Linked DNA regions of Homo sapiens: region 2 is linked to region 1. Evidence: promoter capture Hi-C in 16 types of primary human blood cells and fetal thymus (Javierre and others, 2016). All regions are on one chromosome and are shown on one strand. Each heading gives the region's core, a stretch centred on a gene start or on the middle of the fragment in contact. The rest is flanking DNA. Distances are from core to core; before and after follow the strand shown. Region 1 holds the start of CYB5R1 (cytochrome b5 reductase 1). Region 2 has its middle 15 kb from the start of FMOD.

Region 1 (6,810 bases), core at 1,462-3,961:
TCACCTAGGAATTTGCATGGCAACAGTCAACAATGGTGGGAGAGAAAGGCCCTCAGTGTAATGCACCTGTCCCGCCGGCAATCATTCCCAGTTTCTTCGCCACTCGGGGTTCTGGTGGAGATTTCTTGTTGGGCTGAATGTTAAAATGCCCTGAGAGGTCAGGTGAAGAGAGCAGTGGAAGAATAAAGTCAATACAGCGAACTTAGAAAACAAATGCAGAGTTGAAAATATGCCTGAGGCCAGTTGAGCAGCTGCTATGACATCTGATCCTGGAGCTTGGGTGGAAGCTTGAGTTGAGCCAGCCCTGACAATAATATAGTTGAGGGACAATGGGGCCAGGGCTATCTGTGAGTCAGTTCAGCGCCACACAATGTATCAGCTGCTTCTGGCAAAGTGTCACTCCCTGGTGAAGGAGACAGGCACAGAGCCAGGTGTGAATCTATTTTCCCAAGTGGCACACAGCAGCTCCAGGGACTTGCTAATGCACCCAGCTGTTCCCATGGGAAGGGCTGAAAGCTATCTCTGGCTCACTCCACAGCTCACCCAGGGGGGCAAATTTTTGAAGGTGGGGAAGAGGGGCACATGTTTGCTTTAGTAATCTCCACAGCTGCCATGGCTAGGGAATTCAAGTGGAGGAGGAACTGCTTCCTGTGGCAAATGGGGCTGAGAAACATGCCTTTCTATTGTATCAGCGCTATGTTTAGAAGGAAGGGCGGCCCTGGCCCTTACGTGCATACACATGTGTACACACAGCCATACTGTGCCAAGAGGACTATGGGAACTGATAAAGTGGGAGACAGGCTCAAGGAGAAGACAGGTCATTACCTTTTCCAGTGTAAGTGAGCAACCCGCTTGGCCCCCGAAACTCCACCACATCCCCAACCTTCAGGCTATCCAGGTACTGAGACATCTTCCCTCCCTCAGGAAATTTGGGGTGCACACCCTTCAGGTAGACCTTACAAGACAGAGAGAAAAATACCTTATTTGGAATGTCACTGGTTTCTGAGCCCCATGTTGACTAAACCTCCCTGAGGCTGGGGCAGGGATCAGATATGTGCTATCTTTTCCCCGTCTACATACTTTCTTTCTTTCTTTTTTTTTTTTGAGTCAGAGTTTTGCTCTTGCTGCCCAGGCTTGAGTGCAGTGGCGCAATCTTGGCTCACTGCAACCTCCGCCTCCTGGGTTCAAGTGAGTCTCCTGCCTCAGTCTCCTGAGTAGCTCATACTTTCTTCACATCCACAGAGTACATACCATTTCCTGCTGTCAGGCAAATCTTAGAAATTTCTACAAATCCCAGAAAGAATGGGTAAGCAGCCCCTGGGTCCCTTCCTAGCCCCTTACCTTGATGACAAGATCCACATAGCCTTGATCCTCATCACTGGTGACAGGAGTGTATGGCCTGATGACCAGGCTGCCATCAATTCGGGTGGAGAGGTAGATATGTTTGCCTGGGGACCGTGCAGAGAGCTACATAAGGGTTGTCTGTGATGTGCTGCATCCCTCAAAATACTCAAAGAGATTTGAGAGAACAAGATGTCTTGCTTCCTGCTGTGGTCCCAAGGAGCTACAAGGCAGGGAAGATTTGCCCCATTGAGCCCTCAGTTGGATCTCTTATAAGCGCCCAGTTGAGGAAACACTTATTTCCAGCGTTTCCTGCCAGTTACTGCCAGGACCTTGACAGATGAGCCAAAAGGGTCTGGGCAATGGGAAAAAGTTAGTAGTGCTTGCTCAGAGGGAGTAATTAGCAAATCCTGCAGGGAAGAGGCAAGACTGTTGAGTGTTAAAGCTGGATGGGGGTCATGGAAGCCACACTCTAGAGGGGCCCAGTGGCACCTCACAGCTTGGAGGATGCAGAGCCAAGTGGGGGAAGGGGAATGGTGTGTGGAGCAAACCGGTTGAAGCAGCGTGTTTCATGAGATCCCAGGAGGGGAGTCACCTTCTGAGGATACCAGGGAAAGGAGCCCATTCCACACTTTCCTTACCCACAGGCAGCCCCAGAGTGTGGTGGGCGGTGGGCAGGGCAAAGCGGAACCTCTTGGTGTTGTGGCTCACAGTCTGGAGGGTGGAGGACACAAGTGTTTCACCAAGCGCGCCTGGCGCTGCCACGTCCCTTGGACATCCCAACCACCGTGGGTGCTGTACCCTCCATGCCAGGAGCACTCTGGTCCCCTCCTTCACCCTGGCCCTTTCTTCCCCAACTTACCGTCTTGTCTAGCAGTCGTAGCAGGTACTTTTCATTGGGGTCCAGGAGAGTGACCTGAGGCCGGCGGGACCTCCGAACCAAGTAGGAGCCCACAGCCAGGCCGAGCAGAGTGACCAGCCCCACCCCCAGGGAGGCCAGCAGGACGGGGCTCTGTGGGTAGAGGAGGCAGCGTGACCGCCAGGCTGGGTAAGAGCCCGGGGCTTGGGTGGTGACCGTCCCAGGGGTGGCGATCCCGAGCTCCAGCGCGGAGGCATGCCAAGGGCAGAGGGGTAACCTGGCGGAGTCCCGAGCCCGGATGTGCGGGATCGGGACCCCAGCATCCACGGTGGGCCCAGAGCCCTGCGGGGCGGGGTCGGCAGCGACAGCCCCTGGTCCGGAGCTGAGTGGCCAGAACCAGATGGGGAGGGGTCCCCCAGTGGAGGATACTGAATGAGGGTCTTACCGTCTGGATCCCCATGACGGAGCGCCTTTTCCTCCACCACCTGACAAGCCGACAGATCCCACAATGCGCCGCGGGGCGGGTCGGAGGGCGGGGCAGGCCGGGGGCGGGGCCGGGCAGGAGGCAGGACCTCGCGGCTGGGGGGGCAGGAGGCGGGGCCTGGCGGGGGGGGGGGGGGGTGTCTGTCGGGGGCGGGGCCTAGCAGGAGGTGGCGGCGGCGGGGCCTTTTGGGGGCGGGGTCCGGCAGAGGCGGGGCTGGGCCCCTCTGCGCGCCACCCTTTCCCTCCGCTACTCGGTGGCTCAGGGTCTCCGGTGCTTATTCAATACTTTTTTTTTTTTTTTTGAGTCGGAGCCTCGCTCTGTCGCCCAGGCTGGAGTGCAGTGGCGCGATCTCGGTTACTGCAACCTCCGCCTCCCAGTTTCAAGTGGTTCTCCTGGCTCCGCCTCCCGAGTATCTGGGACTACTGGCGTGCGCCACCACGCCCGGCTAATTTTTTTTTTGTATTTTTAGTACAGACTGGGTTTCACCGTGTTGGTCAGGGTGGTCTCGAGCTCCAGGGCTCAAATAATCTACCCGCTTCGGCCTCCCAACGTGTTGGGATTACAGGCGTGAGCCATCGCGCCCGGCCCCAAGATCTTTTAAGACCGCAGCTCCAGCCTCTCCTCCCAGCGAGGTGGTCCCTGCCACTTCGACCCGCTTATATCCGAACTGGATGGGAGTTCTGCCTAAGGTAGAACCACGCTAAATTGGGGGATTGGAAATCTCTTGAGTCTGCGGGTGCTGAGCGGAGAGTGTAACGATGAACCAGAGACAGGCTCAAAGTAGAGCAGAAGGGCCTGAAGTTAATCATTGTGCAGTCACCTTAGTTTTTCAACCGGCTGAATTGCAGCAAGAGAATGGAACAGCCCAGAGGAGTCTCTTACAGGAGTGAACAGTGGCATGGCAACTTCATTTCCTTTTGACAAAAGACTGATTTTGTTTACAGCGCCAAGCCGTCAGCCTATCAGGATGATTCAGGAGCTTCCTTTGGTTTCAAAGACCAAGCTTCACATCCTGATTTGGGTTCTTGTGCCCTTAGGGTCAAAGAAGTGGGCTTTGGAGGCAGAGTGTACAGAATAAGAATCTTGCCTCTAGCACTTATTGGCTCTGTGACCTTAGATAGCTTACTCAACCTGAGTTTCTTCATCTACAGATGGATATAAGATGGATATCTACAGATGGATATATATTATTATCTACAGATAGATTGTATCTAGTTCATAGCTTTGGTGTGAGGCTTCAGTGAGATATGTTAACGTGCTTAGTGTAGTGCCTGTCATAAAGCAAAATATTCAACAGTTGGCAGCTACTATTATAACTTAAAAGACAGCACAGAGGGTCAGCTATGGTTTTAGGAATGAGCTCTGCCTGGGGCACAAGCATGGGACAGGAGGAGGCAGGAAAAAACATCAGGAGCCGCTGGAGCTACAGATTTCCCAAGATGACCATTCTTTCTCATACATGAGTTTCTCAACTAGAATGACATTTGCTCTTTGATATACCGTGATGGATGAGATCTCTGCAGATGTCAGTGTCAACATCTTAAACTAATACCATCAGGGCAGCAGGGACATTAGAGCCCCCAGTTTTCAGTTGTATTTGGTGAACTCTGTGAATGATCCAAGAGATACTTAGTTTTCCTTTTCCTCTCCACTGGCTGAAAATGTTCCTAAGACCCCAGTACATGTTCCTCTGAATTTTTTAAGCAGCCTGCACACTGACTTGAGGGAAGTGAGTGCACCAGATCATGGTGACATGCCAATCCATGCAGAGAGGGTTGAAAAGGGGAAGGAAGGGACCCTTCCTCTTTTCTGTTCCGAGAGAATGAGGCGATTATGTTCCGGTGCTTCTGACATCCCCACTGCTGGCTTGGTTAAGAAGCCACACTACTGATCCTTGCCACTGCTCCACTCTGGCTAAAGAGGTTCTAGGCCTTCCTCCCTCTAGTGGATAGATGTGGCAAGAGAGGGGGAAGTATGGAACGAAAGGAGAGCATAACTACAACTCGGGCTTCTCTCAGTGATTGCATTTTCTGAACCCCAAAGTGGCACATTCTAACAAGTGTGAGTGTATCACTGGGAACCACAGGACAGAATGGTTGGGTGTGGGCTTATCCTGGAAACTAAGTGTTGGACTCAGTAATTGTGGGAAGGCTCTTTTGCTCCTGAAAATGAATGCTGCAGGAGTGGTGGGAAGGGGCTGATGGCCTGGCAGGTCTTCCTGTCTCAGATTCTGTGGTGAATTGAACTCCACTCCACCACGACTCATGGTAATCTTACATTACTCCTAGTTTGGAGGAAAAGATAGGCATTTCTGAATTTTTATTTAACCCAATCTTTTAAGTTTAGGATTTCCTCCTGGGTATACAATAAAGAATAGAACAGGCTGGGTTCACGCCTGTAATCCCATCACTTTGGGAGGCTGGATGGATCACTTGAGCCCAGGAGTTTGAGACCAGCCTGGGCAACATGGCAAAATCCTGTCTTTACAAAAATACAAAAATTAGCCAAGTGCGATGGCGCTGGCCTGTAGTCCTAGATACTAAGGAGGCTGAGGTGGGGGTATTGCTTGAGCCTGGGAGATCAACGCTGCAGTGAGCCATGATTGCGCCACTGCACTCCAGCCTGGGCAATAGAGCAAGACCCTGTTTAAAAAAATATATATATATAATGTAGTGTGAGGGGGAAGTAGAATTTCAAACCTGTGTTTTATAATTCTGAATTAGGATGTAAAACTCAGTGGCCCTTTTTAGATAAGATATCCAGAAAGAAGCTTGGAGGAAGACTTGCTCATACTGAGGAGATGGCATGGAGGAATCAGACCAGGAGATGTAATAATGACAAAAAAATTAACATTTATTGAGCATGTGCAATATAGCAAGAACTAGGTAAATTGCTTTTCACGTATTCTGACAACATCCATTTAATCCTGACAACAACTGTGAGATAGATATTATCATTAGTAGTCTCATTTTATGGAGTGGGGGGAAACTGAAGTTTAGGACAAGTAAGTCACTTGCCCAAGATCACCTACTAAATGGCAAACTCAGACTGCATACCAGGCAGCTTGATGTTGAAAACTAACAACCTCACACCCTTTTTGAACTTTTCTTTTTTTTTTGAGACGGAGTCTTGCTCTGTCACCCAGGCTGGAGTGCAGTGGCGCAATCTCGACTCACTGCAACCTCTGCCTCCCAGGTTCAAGTGATTCTTCTGCCTCAGCCTCCTGAGTAGCTGGGATTACAGGCATGCGCCACCATCCCCGGCTAATTTTTGTACTTTTAGTAGAGACGAGGTTTCACCATGTTGGCCAGGCTGGTCTCAAACTCCTAACTTCGTGATCCGCCTGCCTCAGCCTCCCAAAGTGCTGGGATTACAGGCGTAAGCCACCGTGCCTGGCTGAACTTTTTAGTATGGAAACTATCAAACATATACAAAAGTAGACAGAACAGTATAATAAAGCCCGACGTACCCATCACCCTCTTCAACAATTATTAAATCATGGTCACCTTTCTTTCATTTCTTCCCCAGTCCGTTCCTTCCTCCAGTATTATTTTTAAGCAAATCCCATATTTTTTATAACTTTGTCCTTAAATATTTTAGTGTGTATCTTTAAAAGCTAAGGACTTAAAAATAACCATAATACCATTATCACATGTAAAAATAATTAACAACAATTACTTAGTTTCATCAGATAGCTAGTCAGTGTTCAAAGTTCCACCTGTCTCTTTTTTTTTTTTTTTTTTTTGAGATGGAGTCTCACTCTGTCGCCTAGGCTGGAGTGCAGTGGCATGATCTTGGCTCACTACCAGCTCCACCTCCCAGGTTCACGCCATTCTCCTGCCTCAGCCTCCCGAGTAGCTGGGACTACAGGCGCCCGCCACCACGCCTGGCTAATTTTTTGTATTTTTAGTAGAGACGGGGTTTCACTGTGTTAGCCAGGATAGTCTCAATCTCCTGACCTTGTGATCCATCCTCCTCGGCCTCCCAAAGTGCTGGGATTACAGGGATGAGCCGCCGTGCCCGGCCTTTTTTTTTTTTTTTTTTTTTTGAGATGGAGTCTCACTCTGTCACCCAGGCTGGAGTGCAGTGGCACGATCTCGGCTCACTGCAACCTCTGCCTCCCGGG
Region 2 (6,810 bases), core at 2,627-5,126, 370 kb after region 1:
GGCTGGTATTCCATTCCCAAGGCCCTGGAAACATCTGTCTGACATCCTAGATGAAGCTCTTTTGTCTGCCTTATGGAAGTCCCTGTTAGATGGCACAGTGCATTGAATAGTGTCCCCCCAGGATCCATGTCCACCCGGAACCTTACAATATGACTTATTTGGAAACAAGGTCTTTGCAGTTATAATTAATTAGGGGTCAAGATGAGATCGTAAGATAAATATGTACAAATATTACGTGTCCGTAATAAATAAAAATAAAAATAATTTAAAAGATGAGATCCTAATGAATTAGGGCGGGCCTGAAATCTGATGACTGGTGTCTTTTTTTTTTGTTTTTGAGACAGAGTTTCACTCTTATTGCCCAGGCTGGAGTACAATGGCGCAATCTCAGCTCACTGCAACCTCCACCTCCTGGGTTCAAGCAATTCTCCTGCCTCAGCCTCCCGAGTAGCTGGGATTACAAGCACCTGCCATGACAGCTGGCTAATTTTGTATTTTTAGTAGAGATGGGGTTTCACTATGTTGGCCAGGCTGGTCTCGAACTCCTGACCTCAGGTGATCCACCCAGCTGGGTCTCCCAAAGTGCTGGGATTACAGGTGTGAGCCACCGCTTCCGGCTATGACTGGTGTCTTTATAAGAAGCAGAAGACACAGAGACAGGGAGAAGATGGCCATGTGAAGACACAGGCAGGTGAAGACTGGAGTTATACTAGCACAAGCCAAGGCACACCAGGAGCCACCGGAAGCTGAATGAGGCAAGGAAGGATTCCTAGAGCCTTTGGAAGAAGCATGACTCTTCCAACCCTTGACTTGGGACTTCTGGCCTCTGGAACTATGAGAAAATAAATACATCTTAAAAATTGTTTTAAGCTACTCAGTTTGTGGGTACTTAGTTACGGCAGCCCTAGGGAACAAATGGAAATGGGTTCTGTGGATCTGAAACCAGATTCAAAGCAGTGTTAGCTTTCACCAGGATGTAATGTTTCTGGATTAAGAAGGAGGTGTTTGTATGTGGCAGTCCTAATTTATATAAGGTCATTCTATACCCCTGTTGGTGTCTCTCTTACCCAGTTCCACAGAGCTGTCTTGGCGGCTGGTATATGGATGAATGCAAGGCCAGGCATGGTGGTTCACGTCTGTAATCCCAGCACTTTGAAGGGCTGAGGCAGGAAGATGGCTTGAGCTCAAGAGCTTAAGACCAGCCTGGGCAACATAGCAAGACCCTGTCTCTACAAAAATTGAAAACCAAATTAGCTGGGCATGGTGGCGGGCACTCGTGGTCCTAGCTACTTGGGAGGCTGAGGTGGAAGGATTGCTTGAGTCTGGAAGTCAAAGCTGCAGTGAACCACGATTGAACCACTGCACTCCGGACTGGGTAACAGAACAAGACCCTGTATCAAGGGGGAAAAAAAAGATGAATACACCTCACAAACCCCTTCCACAGATTTCTTGAAAGGAAAATCTTCTATTTTTTGGCTGTTCGGCATCTGAGCCCTTTATTTATTTTGGGAAATTCCCCACTATGTGAGACAGAGCCTGACTCCTATTATTAAATATGAGATTGCCAGATACTCACCTCCCAGTCTCACTTGCTGGTAGGGCACTAGCACCTGACTTGGTTCTGCCAGTTTGACTTGGAATTGAAAGTTAATGACATGATAAAGCAAAGGCCCTGTGGAACCCACCCTGATGACGGTAGGGCAGTGATGGCAGTGGCCTCCAGATTCCATAGGCAGGAACAGCAGCAGTTCTCATAAATGGAGCTCCCGAGTCTGTGCCAGGGCGGGGTGGGGGGTCTTTATGGACATGAACTTGGGTCCTTGGGTGTTGTTTCTGATTGCATGCCCTCAAGCTTGGTCTGGAGCCCTCCCAGAACTACCTGATATGCCATCCCCCTTTAAACGAACAAACGAATGAATTCTCGTTCGGTTTAAATCAGCTAACTTCAGTTTCTGTTGTTTGCAAACTAAGAACTGGGACTGACACAACCCAGCCTCTAGCTGGTGGTCTGGCCCCAAATGGTCCTTGATGATTATTTCTTGGACTTCTAGGACATGAATGTTTAAAAATATTCTGTTTTGGCCGGGCCCAGTGGCTCACGCCTGTAATCCCAGCACTTTGGGAGGCTGAGGCAGGAGGATCACGAGGTTAGGAGATCGAGACCATCCTGGCTAACACGGTGAAACCCCATCCCTACTAAAAATACGAAAACGAAAAATTAGCTGGGTGCAGTGGCGGGCGCCTCTAGCCCCAGCTACTCAGGAGGCTGAGGAAAGAGAATGGTGTGACCCCAGGAGGCGGAGGTTGCAGAGCGAGACTCTGTCTCAAAAAAAAAAAAAAAGTCTGTTTTATTGTCCTATGAAAACATAGGTATTTATTAAAATGTGTCATAATTTTTGGCTCAGAAAACATAATAAGTGAGGCCAATGAGAGATGCTTTTCATAATTTTAAGGTGCCTATGGGCTGAGAGTCCCCTTAGGGGAGGACGGGCCAGGAAACACCACCTGACACTTGCTCTGGGCCAAAGCCCTCAGGGCTGTTCTGGGTCCACTCCCCTGCTGCCATAAGGACATCCCCTCTGCTCCTGGCTTACCCTTGCTACAGGGCTTGGAACTGCTTATGCCCCTGACGCCTTGACCGTGTGTATACCTTGATTGTATATATCTGTTTCTACTTTGGGACTTGAGTTTTCTGGCTCCTTCCTTGGAATAGCTTTCCGCACACCTTCTTGTGCAAACTGCCATTGTTGGTCTTGTTATCTGACTCAGATCTACCTCTGGGACTGCCAGCTAAGCCTGGCACTGATAGCATGCTTCTGTTATTGTCCCTGCCTGCCTCCAGAGTCCTATTTTGCCAAAACTCATGGCTCTGATGAACACTTGTGGAGAAAATGTGGGGATTATTGGGGTAGAATACAAGGACAAAGCTGCCGATTCTCTATTTCTGGTGGGTTGTAAGAAAGTTCAAGACTGACCCCTCTGATTTCCAATACTCTTGCTTATGTAGGTAGGTCTTCTTATTGCCTCTTGGAACTCTGACCCATTTCCTGTTTTTATTTCTTAAACTGGGTCAAATGTACTTCTGTTCTTTCTCCCCTACGTGTAGCTCACAATCTGGACACATAGATGGAAACAGCTCATTTATCTTTAGTGTTTGCAGTTTCTTTTGGAGCCCAGCATGGCTGGGCATGGTCTGCTTGGTCCTTTTGTCCATTCCAGTCTTTCTGGACTCATTTCCCCCTTCTTCTGCTCCCTGGACCACACGGTCCAGGAAAGGATTAGGTCCAGTTTATTGTGCCATTTCATGCAGCACATATGAGCATGGCCTAGTTTCCAGAAAAGTTTCCTACTCTGGAAACCTGGGCTGCTACAAGATTGAGCAATGTGTTTGCTCCATCTGGGCACAACTTTCTAGCCTAGGTACCCAGAGGCTCAGCTGGCAACAGGAGTCATGTCTACTAGCTCCCATCTGTCTGAGGCAGAAGAATTTCTGGGAGAGTTTGAGGTCTACACAGGATACTGAGTCTCCTGATGATATACATCAACTGTGGACCCTGCATCTGAGTGCTTAGTAGAATAAATGGCTGAGCTAGCAAACAAAGCTAACAAAGAAGTGCATTGCAAGCCCCCAGTGAGAGGGAGCTTGGGGCTGTTCTGCAGCATTCCTGGCTACCCTGCCCCTCATCATTCCCCACCCTTGGAAAAAAAAAATGAACATTTTGTCCCTATGCCTTAATTGGCACTTATAGCAAACTACCTCATGGGTTCTTGAATGAACTAGGTGTCTTTTAAGTTGTTAAGGTAAAACAAATGTTAGTTATTATTATTTCTATCACATGCCATGGCAAGAACCTTGAGAACTTTACATTCAACTTTCACATACTAAATGCAGCAACTACTGACACATTATCTAGCTCAAGGTTTGCATTCAGTAAAAATTTGTTGAGTGATTAAGCTATGTTCATAGAGAGAAAAGACGATGATTTGCCTATTTTTCTTGCCTTCCCTCTATGATCCATGTTTCTGCTTGTCTTTCCTTGGCTTGACTTAGAGAGAAATGGGAAATCCTATCTTTGTTTTTCATACATCTAACAGAAATGTAGCATTCCTTTCAATTATGAAGGTAACAAACCACAGCCTTATTAGCAGTACCTGAGGCTTTGTCACCAGCTGAAATCACATATATTTTTATTTATTTTTTATTTTTTGAGATGAAGTCTCGCTGTTGCCCAGGCTGGAGTACAGTGGCTCTATCTTGGCTCACTGCAGCCTCCGCCTCCCAGGTTCAAGCAATTCTCCTGCCTCAGCCTCCTGAGTAGCTGGGACTACAGGCATGCGCCACCATGTCCAGCTAATCTTTGTATTTTTAGTGGAGACAGGGTTTTATCATGTTGGCCAGGCTGGTCTTGAACTCTTGACCTCAAGTGATCCATCCGCCTGAGCCTCCCAAAGTGTTGGAATTACAGGTGTGAGCCAGAGCACCCGGCCCACAGATTTTTTTTTTTTTTTTGAGACGGAGTCTTGCTGTGTTGCCCAGGCTGGAGTGCAGACCGCTCACTGCAAGCTCCGCCTCCCGGGTTCACGCCATTCTCCTGCCTCAGCCTCCCGAGTAGCTGGGCCTACAGGCACCCACCACCACGCCCAGCTATTTTTTTTGTATTTTTTAGTAGAGACGGGGTTTCACCGTGTTAGCCAGGATGTTCTCTATTTCCTGACCTCGTGATCCGCCCGCTTCGGCCTCCCAAAGTGCTGTGATTACAGGCATGAGCCACCGCGCCCGGCCAGCCACCGCGCCCGGCCAAGATATTTTTATATCACATTACAGTTGTTAAAATAGTTTGATATGCCATTTACATGCATCAATAGTTTGAAATGACTATAATTAACTAGACCTGTTGCTAAATCTTGTTATTCATCGACTTAATAAAGAAACATATATATTATTATATCAAAAATGTATATGTTTTATATTTTGGTAACTGTACTTCAATGTAATTAGTTTCCTTTGTAATCCTTTACAAAGTCTTTGTAAGCCTAGGCATGTGGCCTAGGCGGGCAGATCGCTTATGTCCAGGAGTCGGAGACCAGCTTGGGCGACATGATGAAACCCCATCTCTACAAAAAAGCCAAAAGTTAGGTATGGTGGTACATGCCTGCAGTCCCAGCTACTTGGGAGGCTGAGGCAGGCAGGAGGGTTGTTTGAACCCAGGAGGTGGAGGTTGCAATGACCTGAGATCGCGCCACTGCACTCCAGCCTGGGTGAGAGTGAGACCCTGTTTCAAAAAAAAAAAAAAAAAAAAGGCCGGGAGTGGTGGATCACGCCTGTAATTCCAGCACTTTAGGAGGTCGAGGTGGGCGGATCATGAGGTCAGGAGTTCGAGACCAGCCTGACCAACATAGTGAAACACTGTCTCTACTAAAAATATAAAAATTAGCCGGGCGTGGTGGCGCACACCTGTAATCCCAGCTACTCAGGAGGCTGAGACAGGAGAATCGCTTGAACCCGGGAGGCGGAGGTTGCAGTGAGCCGAGATTGTGGCACTGCACTCCAGCCTGGGCGACAGAGCGAGATTCCTTCTCAAAAAAAAAAAAAAAAAAAAAAAGGAAGTTGGGAAAAAGTGGGCTAAGTGGGCTGCGATTTAAAGGTTTCAGAAAAGGCTGGTGGTGCGAGATGAGATGCTGCCCACTAGTGGCTAGAAGGCAGAACTGTGAGCCTGCATGTAAGGCAGGCCCTGGGACATGGGGTTTGGGACGGTGGTAATTAAGTTTCTTCGTACTTGGGTCTGAAATAAGAGAACAAAGCCTACTGCCTTTGACCCCTGCCTACTGCATCAGCGTGATCAACTGAAACTCTCTCCCTTTCTCTCTGTGCTGCAGCCATTTTCGCTGTCTAGAGCCTCAGAAGCTTCCTTGTGCATTAGGGTGTGTATGCATGCTGCTATCTTTGCCTGGACCTGCCCTTCCATCTCTTCGTCTGGATTACTATGCTCTCACTCTGTATCTCAGAGTATCTAGGCCAGGCTCCTTGATAATCCTGGTGTAGACCTATGCTCATCGTCACAGCTCTTTCTCAGTCTAACTACATGATCCTCAGTGTGATTTTTTTGCCGTTGTTCAAGGACTGTCACTGCACTGGACTACAAGCCCCCAAGGGCAGGGGCTGTTTGCTTTTGTTCTCTGCAGTATCCCCAGTTCCTGCTCAGTGGCACTCACTAAACATTTACTGATGAAAAGTGAATTTTGAATTGGAAATTCATAAAGGAACTGTGAATGCTAGCAGAATGGATTTGGGTCCATCTCCAAAAAAAGTAAGATGATCTTTCTCTATTTATGACAGCCAGTGACCCACAAGCCTCCTGCATACACCTAATAATCCAACAATACAAGGATCCTTAGGACAGCACAGTGTAAATAATATTGCAAAACTGACAGGCTGGGGAGACAGACGGCCAGGGTCAGATCCTGGCCTTGATGCGTCCTTCCTGGGTGACCTCTGTGTCTTTGTTTCCAGTTTCCTCCTCTGTAAAATAGTGAAAATAATAATCTCCATGGTAGAGAATGGTGAAGAATACTAAATAAGTAAAGCCCTTAGCACATAATAAGACTGATCAAATGGCAGCTGAAAGAAAAAGAGTCAACTGAGCCTGAGGGACAGTCTATTCTTGCTACTCTGTTTCTTACAAAGCACTGGGTTTAGAAACAAGGGAAGCCTTGCAGCAGGGCTGGCTCCCATTCCTCTCCCTGCTCTGTCTTGGTTGGGATGCTCATGGGAGCTGCAAAGAAGCAAAAACGGAGAGGCAGAGGATTCCT

What was found. The method cuts DNA at HindIII sites, captures the fragments that hold promoters and counts their contacts. A CHiCAGO score of 5 or more calls a contact.
Region 2: a fragment that was not itself captured here is called in contact with the fragment with the promoter of CYB5R1 in region 1 in 1 of 17 cell types (neutrophils); the score reaches 5.9 in neutrophils.

What each region holds. Positions count from the first base shown.
Region 1 is chr1:202,964,546-202,971,355 of GRCh38, forward strand. CYB5R1 (cytochrome b5 reductase 1) reads right to left here and starts at 2,712. Exons shown (of 9, transcript NM_016243.3): 1 at 2,646-2,712; 2 at 2,204-2,353; 3 at 1,983-2,055; 4 at 1,342-1,448; 5 at 826-955; 6 at 67-150. The coding sequence starts at 2,660. RefSeq lists silencers at 2,620-2,669, 2,740-2,899, 3,516-3,810. The HindIII fragment of the contact is 3,400 bases long and covers 286-3,685 here.
Region 2 is chr1:203,332,921-203,339,730 of GRCh38, forward strand. No RefSeq gene overlaps it. Among named protein-coding and RNA genes, the nearest start is that of FMOD, 15 kb to the right of the region's middle. The HindIII fragment of the contact is 4,053 bases long and covers 1,851-5,903 here.